Linked DNA regions of Homo sapiens: region 2 is linked to region 1. Evidence: promoter capture Hi-C in 16 types of primary human blood cells and fetal thymus (Javierre and others, 2016). All regions are on one chromosome and are shown on one strand. The core of a region is centred on a gene start or on the middle of the fragment in contact, and the rest is flanking DNA. Distances in the headings are between cores, read along the strand shown.

Region 1 (4,813 bases), core at 700-3,199:
TGAGGTTTTGTTTTTGTTTTTGATTGAGATGGGGTCTTGCTATATTGCCCAGGTTGGTCTGGAACTCTGGGCTCCAGCAGTCTTCCCACCTCAGCCTCCCAAAGTGCTGGGATTGAAGTCATGAGGTTTGATTGTCAAACTCCTCTTCATTGGTGTGATTATGGCTCACTGCAGCCTCAACCTCTTGGGCTCAAACAATCCTGTGGCCTCGGCCTCCCGAGTAGCTGGGCCTATAAGGCATGCAGCACTATGCTCACCTAATGTTTGAAAAAATTTTGTAGAGATGGGCTAAGTTGCCCAGGCTGGTCTTAAACTTCTGGGCTCAAGCAGTCCTCCTGCCTGGCCTCCCAAAGTGTTGGGATTATAGGCATGAGCCACCTCGCCTGGCCTTCCCTCCTTTACTACATTCTCAGAGACCTCTTAGGAGTTTCCCAAGGGGGAAATTTAGAAAAGTGGGGAAAGCGTTGGTAAAAAAGGCCACCCTCTCTACTTGCTTCCTTATTCTTAAGCTGCAGGGCTCAACATTGATGGCATCCCCCCACACCTACATGTCTAAGGCCTCAAAATCAGAAGTCACGGAAATCTTCCCTTCTGTTCTGTTGCCCTTAAAAACTCACCTATTTCCTTTTTTCTGCATTCCTTTTCTGTCTTCATGTGTAATAATATGAGGTGACCTTTGTTGTTGAGCACAGATTAAACTCAGGAGCTTTATGTGGATTATTTCATTTAATCCTTACGGTGACCCTGGAAAGTAGATGCTGTCATCTACCTCTTACAGGCGAGGAAAAGGAGGCTCAGAGAACATAGGCACTTGCCTTAAAAAGTGGAAAGTTGAGTCTCTCACTCTAGAGTCCATGTTCTGTTAACCACTTGGCAGCTAGAACATGTGTCCTTGTGTATCCAACTTCTTTCCTATTGAGAATTAATTCTTTAAAATAAATTCTCAGGAGTTGGGATAATTGGGATAGAGGGTCTGAATATGATGATAACCTGTCAAAGCTTTGACCCTTCTTCACTACCTCTCCTGCCACAGCGCCTGCCTCCAGCACCCTGAAGATGCTGTGTGATATGTCCTCCTTACCAAGTTGGTGATGGCTGCCTCATGGTGGGCCCTGGACAGGTGTGTGGTCCTGCTGAGCTGTCCACGTGTCGGAAGACCTGTTTAAGACAGTCATTTTTGCCTCTCCGCCAACTGTCTTCAGAGAAACCATTAGGTTAGGTGATACGGTGCCAGCAAGGGAAGCACCATCGTCCAGGATCTGCAAATCTGGTTCCTGGGAACCCCAGACTCCTCAGCAGATCTGGCTGTACATGGATCAGAACCACTTCTTCCCCCGCTTAAGCTGTGGTTTGACCCAAGGGTCAGCATATAGGACTGCCTGCTGCATTTAATGAAGGTGTTTCCTTTTGGAAGTCTGTGCTACCCTCTGCGCCTAGTTGGGAGGAGACATCCATCTGGTCTGGGATTTCGGGAGTTAGAATGGAAAGCTCTTTGCTAAAGACTGGAGTCATCCTGGCCTGCCAACTGGTGGTTCAGAGCCGGACGGGCTTGTTTTGGACATCACTGTTGCCTTCACTCAGCAGCCACGGGAGAGTGCTCCCCATGCAACTCCACCTTAGAAACCACGTCAGATACTGAGTAGCTTGCTGACTCCTGGAAACTTCTGGTTTTTGTTAGTATCATAATGAAGGCAAAGAGAACTAGGCTGTCATCTTTCAGCCTCTTTGACTTACTCTAGATGTTGGGAGCAGTGGTTGCCAGGTGAAACCTGGGCCCTTTGTCTTTTTCACCATGCTTTGGGCAGTTTCTGTATCCAGAGAGTCCGCAGGTTCAGATAAGCTGAAGAAGAGTAATAGAACAGCAAAGGAAGTGGCTTGAAGGATGTGCTAGTAAGCCCTGTGGTTTGTGCTTAGGTCTCTGCTCTGCTACCCAAGGAACTGGTGGTTCAGCTGGAGATAAAAAGAAGAATTTGCCAAGTCAGAGAAGAAACCCCAACCCCGGAAAATCCTCTGTCTCCAGTCTCTGGAGGTGAAGCAGGGACAATAAGCTAAGGTAGTATCTTGGCCATCCCAGGAAACTTGTGGCATTAGGACGATGAAGGCCATGCTTCAGTGTTTTCGTTTCTATTTCATGAGACTTTTTGTCTTCCTGCTTACAAGTGGGAAGATGATTGACAGTGACTCTACTATGCAGGGCTGTTGGTACCAACCTGAGCCCTATAGGTGGCAGTCCCTGGAGAAGTGGTCACAGAAGATGGAGCTCTGATCCCCTGCTTACCTCTTCACAACACTTGTGTGCAAAGATAGTTTTAGATTTGGTTTAGAAGCTATCCTCCAGAACAGGCTCCCATACTTAGAATGTTTCTAGTTAAGGTAATAAATTAGGCAACCCAAGTGTGACTCCACTCAAGTGTCCTTTTCTGTAGGCAGGAAGGGCCCACAACATGGCTTAAAATGTAGTCCATGGTTCTGGCCCACAGTACAGTGTGTATCTATACCAGGTCACCTGTGTTCAATCTGGGAGCCTTCCTGGCCAGTCTGAGTGGCAGCCAGAAGGGAGCTCATAGTGTCTAGGAGTCTCAGGCAAGGTAGGTCAGGGTACTGTGGGCAGGGGGGATGTGTGTGATAGGAGAGGGTACCCTAAACCCCATACCTTCCCTCCCTGACCTGAAAAGCTGATCTCAACAGGGATTCACACAGAATTAGGCTGTGTTTTTGCATTAGCTGGTAGGTGACTTTCTCAAAATTCTTAAATTCAGAAAGTATTTAGTAAACTTGAGGAAGGTATGAAATCTGGAGGAGGCATCCAGGACCCAGGGGTTTGATAGCTTTACAGGTAGGATCATACCACACCAAAAGAGCAGTGGACAATAAGACTATATGAGCTATATGAAGCTTTTAGGAATCATTTAGGACAGACAGAGCCCTAAACAACCCATTCATGACTTAAGTTGTTGGCTCAGTGTATGCTGGGGACAAAGAAAAACTAACAAGCCGACCTGCCTTTATGATAAATTCTAGTGTGCTTACAAGGGATGACTTCCTGAGGTGTGATCTGTCCACCTTGAAGAACTCCACAACTGAAGAAGGGGAGCTGTGAGAACGTGGATTGTTCTACAACTTGCACAGGGTAACAGAGGAAGTGGCTGAGGCCTAGAGTCACGTTTTCCAGTTCCCTTCGCAAACTATATTTCTTGGAACGCGAAAGGAAGCTTTACCTATTTCATAGAAGACCTGGAATCCATAACCTCAGAAGGCAATATTATTGATAGAAAATGTGGAAGGATCAGGAAGTTCTTAGATTCTTGGATGACAGATGCATGTTGATGCCCTATGGAGATGTCCTTGTGTTTTGAGGTCACTGAGGTAGGAAGACCTGTCTACTCTTGGTTTCACCACTAGAACAGTCTTGGGCTGGATGGGTTATAGAGCTGAGCGGCTGTGATGGTTCTGTTTTTACATTAACAAAAACAATTAAAAACACCAAAAACAACATTTGGATTGCTTCAGCTTCTTTTCAGTTGACTTCTCATATGTATTCTGGAAACCACCCAATGAAGTGGGCACCAAAGGTAGAGCTAAGATATTGTAAGGCCAGTGATCATCACCTCACCAATGCCAGGTGGTATGAGGGGGTACTGTAATTTCCTTTTTTTTTTTTCGAGATGGAGTCTCGCATTGTTATTTGGGCTGGAGTGCAATGGCGCGATCTTGGCTAACTGCAACTTCCGCCTCCTGTGTTCAAGCAATTCTCCTGCCTCAGCCTCCCAAGTAGCTGAGATTACAGGCGCCCGACACCACGCCCAGCTAATTTTTTGTGTTTTTAGTAGAGACAGGGTTCCACTATGTTGGCCAAGCTGGTCTCAAACTCCTGACCTTGTGATCCGCCCGCCTCAGCCTCCCAAAGTGCTGGGATTACAGGCGTGAGCCACCACACCCAGCCTGTAATTTCCTTTCTATAAGTGAGGAAACAGGCACAGAGCAGTCAAAACAGCAGGAAATGGCAGAAGCAGTACTGGAACCCAGACAGTCTGATGTCAGTGTCTTTTCTACTCTGCATTGTGCTAGGGTTCTAAGATGGGAGACTGGAGGTAGAGATTAACCCAGGAGGTGAGGAGATGGTGGCTTGGCCTGCACGTGACCTTTTCAGTTTACTTCCCACCAGGCCAAGAGTAATTGATGTTGATATGGTGGGGCTCTTGGCTGAGCCTACGTCAGTAGGTGGGGTCCCTCAACCTTGATCCTGAAAGATCAGTATCCTTTCGCACTTCCTATACCTCCACCCACCGCCAATAAATACATAAAGATTTAGAGATGAATGAATGAATTCCAACCTCTAGATTATTTGTTAACTTGTATTCAGGAGGACCTTCCTTCTAACCCCTAAATTCCAGGTCACTACCCTTGGCATTGGAGCCCTCTGGGTGGAGGCCATAGTTCTGGTATGCTGCTTGGAGTGTCCAGTATACCTGGGCACATCGTGTTACCCTCCTTAGTAGACATCTGGTTTGCTGTCTTCTCCCTCAAACTCTAGTCTCACTGACTTGAGCAGTCAGGTCAAGCGAGATGAGGATTAGATTGTTAAAATGACAGCTCTCTGAAACTTCAGGGGTATGGGGACAGGGCCATAGCAAATAATGATGCAGACAAGTCTTTTTTACCTTTTTATGTCTTTTTCAAGCACACATTTTGGTCAGGGTTGATGGCTGCAAGAAGGAGAAACCTATTCACCACCAAAATAGCTCTGAAAGGGAATATTCTCTCATTAGGCATTTTTATAGACAAGGAGCCTCACGGTTTTGGTACTTGCCTC
Region 2 (4,813 bases), core at 2,092-4,591, 390 kb after region 1:
CATTTTTACTAAAAACAAATCATGATAGAACTGATTTGTTTACAAAATAAACCGCAGTCTTATTGTACTTGGCCTGATGATTTGCATAAAGTGAAGCAAGAATAATTATTTTTCACATAGGCTTTGTTTTTTTTTTTGAGATGAAGTCTTGCTTCGTGGCCCAGGCTAGAGTGCGGTGGTGCGATCGTGGCTTACTGCAACCTCCGCCTCCCAGGCTCAGGCGATTCTCCTGCCTCAGTCTTCCAAGTATCTGGGATTACAGGTATCTGCCACCACGCCCAGCTAACTTTTTGTATTTTCAGTAGAGACAGGGTTTCACCATGTTGGCCAGGCTAGTCTCAAACTCCTAACATTGTGATCTGCCTGCCTTGGCCTCCCAAAGTGCTGGGATAACAGGTGTGAGCCACTGCGCCTGGCCTTCACATAGGCTTTTAAAATTGGCTTTGATGGAACTCTGTTCCATAAGAAATCTTAGATAAGACCTTTTTAAAGCCAAGCCCAGCCATGGGTTTGTACCCTCGAATACCTATGAGTTGGGTAAATTCCTCTCCTCTTGAGGTGTCAAGATAACTTAGGTCTCCTGAGCCTGTTAGAAAGTGACATTCTTTACTTACCACAGGTCAGGAACCTCGTACAGGGACTGTGTTGACATAGTATGAGGCCAGATTTCCCAAGGGGCTCTATAAGTCAATTTTTTGGCTTATTGGCTCTATAAGTCAACTTTGTTTTTTTTTTTTTTGAGACGGAGTCTCGCTCTGTCGCCCAGGGTGGAGTGTAGTGGCGCGATCTCGGCTCACTGCTGCAAGCTCCACCTCCCGGGTTCACGCCATTCTCCTGCCTCAGCCTCCCGAGTAGCTAGGATTACAGGTGCCCACTACCACGCCCGGCTAATTTTTTGTATTTTTAGTAGAGACGAGGTTTCACCGTGTTAGCCAGGATGGTCTGGATCTTCTGACCTCGTGATCCGCCCGCCTTGGCCTCCCAAAGTGCTGGGATTAAAAGTGTGAGCCACCATGCCCGGCCTAGAGCTCTTTTTTCTAAGAAAAAATCCTTTTAAGGCCAGGCACGGTGGGTCATTGAATCGTGAATTCAATGGGTGGTCTCTGAGCAGTCACCCTGAATCAGGCCTGTTAAACTTCTTTCAGGGCTCACTGAATGTGACTAGATAAATAAGGAGTGTTCTCCAAGTTAGGCCTGCTGGATTTTCATCAGCAATTCCTTCAGAGATCCCCTCCATATATACAAACACACACACGAAGACAAGACAGACAGAAGGCCTTCCAAATTAAGGTCCCTAACCAAGAACTCCAAGAGTACCCCTTCCAAACTATCCTCCTATTCTCCATCTGACAAATCTCCCTGAAATATTCCTGATTGAGAAGTCTCCCGAACCAAGACTCTTCCTAGTTAGGGACAGCCAACTGGGATGCCCCAGGAGCCAAACTGAGACAGACACCCCATGGTGGAGCTACAGACACCCACCATGTGGCTACAGAATCAGTCCGGAGAAGGAAGGAGGCACTGGCAGCACCTAGGATACTCAGCAACCTGCCACCCCATGATGGGGCTATAGCTACAGACACTCCATGACCTGGCTACAGCGCCCCGCTATGGAGCTACAGATACCCTGTGACAGGGCTACAGTTATGGGATGTCTCCCCAGGACTATTTCTCCATTGCGATTAAGTCCATGCATATTGGGCTAGCAGTGCCCCACTGGCAGAGACGGTGCCAGAGTTAGCCCCTAGTCCAAGAGAACTATGTGGCCGCTTAGGCTGGCCTCTGGATCTGTCACCAGAGGTGGGGCTACCGAACCATGGACAGGTAGCCACAAGGGGTATCCCAGACGAACCCCCAAATTTGTAACCGTACAATGGGTTCACCTTGCCCACTGCCTAGACAGAGCCGATTTATCAAGACAGGGGAACTGCAATAAAGAGTAATTCACGCAGAGCCCACTATGAGACTGGAGTTTGTTTCAACATTACTCAATCAGTCTCCCTTAGCATTCCGGGATCAGAGTGTTTAAGGATAATTTGGTGGGTGGGGGAAGGCCAGTGAGTCCAGAGTGTTGACTGGTTGGGTCGAGATGAAATAATAGGGAATTGAAGCTGTCCTCTTGCACTGAGTTGGTTCCTGGGTGGGGGCCACAAGGTCAGATGAGCCAGTTTATCCATCTGGGTGGTGCCAGGATCCAACCAGTGCGGGGTCAGCAAAATATCTCAAGCACTGATCTTAAGAGCAGTTTAGGGGGATCACAATATCGTAGCCTCCAGCTGCATGACTCCTAAACCATAATTTCCAATCTTATGGCTAACTTATTAGTCCTACAAAGGCAGTCTAGTTCCCAGATAAGAAGATTTGTTTTGGGAAAGGGCTGTTATCCTCTTTATTTTAAACTATAAACTAAGTTCCTCCCAAAATTAGTTCACCTAAGCTCAGGAATGAACAAGGACAGAAGCAAGATGGAATTGGTTAGGTCAGATCTCTTTCACTGTCTCAGTTTTAATTCTGCAATGGCGGTTATCACTGGGAGCCCCCAGCCCCCGCAGAGACATGCGGAGCCCCGCCCCCACCCTGCACTCTAATAAAGAAGGGGGCCAGCGTGCCGGCCTCTTAAAACAAGTTAACACCTGGCAGGATTCTAACAGGAACCTGGCCAGGTTTCTCCGCGGGGCGGGGCTGGGACGGCCGGAAGATGGCGGCGACGGCGGCAGCCGGGTCCGAGGGTCACTCTCCAATGCGCCCTTGACGGCTCTCGCCGCCGAGCCACCTACCTTGCTAGCAGGCGGCCTCCGCGCATGCATGAAGGGGCAGGAGGGGGCGGTGACGAGCACTTCACGGCGCCAATGAGCACCCAGGAGCCCAGGTCGCGCCCAATCACGGCCCAGGTGGCGGAGAAAAAGTAGGGTGCGCGCGCGCCGCGCGTGTGGCAGTCGCGGAAGGCGCGGGAGCTTGCGTGCTGCTGGGCCTGAGCTGTCTGTCTCGTTTCTGTCCGCGCGCCCTGCATCCCGGCCCCGGGCGCCCGCTGGAGGTCGCCGAGGAGCCACAGGGCTGACTGGTCTGCTGCCCGGGCCCAGGAGTGCCTGGTGTAGCAGTCGCGGAGCCATCCCGGCGTCTGCTGCCATGACCGACTCTCCCCTCAGAGGAGACTCTTCCTCAGCGGTGGCTGCAGAGACAGATGAGCGGCGGCTCCTGGCCGCGGGACCGTGAGACGGGTTCGTGGCCGGCCATTTAGGGGGACGCTGCGACCACCGCCTGCGCCCCTCCGGACTGGTTCCTTGGGCCCCGGAAGCTCGCGGCGGGCCCTGCGGGAGGCGGCATGCTCCCGCGGAGGCTGCTGGCCGCCTGGCTGGCGGGGACGCGGGGCGGGGGCCTGCTGGCGCTTCTGGCCAATCAGTGCCGCTTCGTCACGGGCCTGCGCGTGCGGCGCGCGCAGCAGATCGCGCAGCTCTACGGCCGCCTCTACTCCGAGAGCTCACGCCGCGTTCTCCTCGGCCGCCTCTGGCGCCGGCTGCACGGCCGTCCTGGCCATGCCTCTGCCTTGATGGCGGCGTTAGCCGGCGTCTTCGTTTGGGACGAGGAGAGGATCCAGGAGGAGGAGTTGCAGAGGTGGGCGCTGCGGCGAGCTCTTTCTGGGCCGTGGGGTGGGGGGGCTTGTGAACCCTGGGGCCTGCCCTGTGGTCGTTGGCCCTTGTTTACCCGGTGGTCTTTTAATTGGCAATACAGTCGATTGAACCTGCTTCAGCAAACCGCGTTGTTATTTGTCTCTGTGTGTCAATTTGCATTTGTCGGGTTATAAAATAGAACTGAAAGTGTGTAGGCTGGTGTGTAGGAGGGAGACTTTGAGTGGGGCGAGCAAGACAGTAAAGAAACAACACTGTAGAAATCAATTAGATAGCGAAGGCATGGAGGCCCTTGTTCATGTAATCTGTAATCTTTAACACAACCAGAAAGGTGCAAATTCAAAACAAATTTTAAATTTGGCCTAAGGGTGGTGGGCTGCTATTTGCAAAATGACTTCAATCCAGATGGGACTCAGGCCTGTGAGAAAAGCCAGGAGAGCCCTCTGTCATCGTGACTCGTGGCAAAATTGAGAGCCTGGAAGCGATTTTGTCCAGGTTACACAAACCAGCAGCCCAGACATTTGAACCTGTAAGAATTAGGTCAGATTTTTGCGACGTTAACTAGAACTTTGGGAATAGTGTCCCATTAGACTCTGAAGTCATGCTGTCGTCATCAAAACTGTGAAAAGCCCAGTACCATTGATTACGTTTGTTAATCTGTAGTTCTGAGACTGTAGTTTCCAGGTAATGTCATGGGGAAACTTTGCTTTGGTTTTTGGTTTACCTTGTGTCTGTATTTTCTTTGCAACAGATATTCTTAAACTGTGCCCTCCCTGCACAGAAAGTACTTTGCCGTGATTTCGGGAACCAGAGACAATCCCCTCCCTCCGCAGATTCCACACTCGCCTGTTTATTCTTGATATTTCCTCCACAGGGAAACAACCTGTTATTCCACATTTTTTGTTAGGTTAAAAATGGAAATACCCCAATAAAGTTTATACCATGGCCTGTGTGGGAGGTGTAACACCCAGATGCCAGGCAGCTATTTGTGCCACACTATGAATTGTGGGTAAATGCAAGTCTATCTTAAGAACTGGGAATACTTTTCCTAGCAGGAAAGATAACTTTTATAAATGCAACTTAAAATAATAACCACAAACAACCTTATTCACAAAAAAGTTAAGCTATCAAAGCGTGATAGGTATTTTGCCTAGTTCCTATTAGTATTCTTTTGCTACTTGGCCATT

Evidence for each region. The method cuts DNA at HindIII sites, captures the fragments that hold promoters and counts their contacts. A CHiCAGO score of 5 or more calls a contact.
Region 2: a contact is called between the fragment with the promoter of STARD7-AS1 here and a fragment that was not itself captured in region 1, in 2 of 17 cell types (total CD4 T cells and non-activated CD4 T cells). The highest score is 5.6, in total CD4 T cells.

The regions. Positions count from the first base shown.
Region 1 is chr2:96,591,852-96,596,664 of GRCh38, reverse strand. It overlaps KANSL3 (KAT8 regulatory NSL complex subunit 3), which reads left to right. Exons shown (of 21, transcript NM_001115016.3): 21 at 1,034-3,493. The coding sequence ends at 1,054. Among named protein-coding and RNA genes, the nearest start is that of KANSL3, 44 kb to the left of the region's middle. The HindIII fragment of the contact is 1,896 bases long and covers 1,002-2,897 here.
Region 2 is chr2:96,206,944-96,211,756 of GRCh38, reverse strand. STARD7-AS1 (STARD7 antisense RNA 1) reads right to left here and starts at 3,341. Exons shown (of 4, transcript NR_046322.1): 1 at 2,778-3,341. STARD7 (StAR related lipid transfer domain containing 7) reads left to right here and starts at 2,930. Exons shown (of 8, transcript NM_020151.4): 1 at 2,930-3,612. The coding sequence starts at 3,323. RefSeq lists silencers at 2,684-2,903, 3,254-3,513 and an enhancer at 2,646-3,236. The HindIII fragment of the contact is 17,331 bases long and covers 1-4,813 here.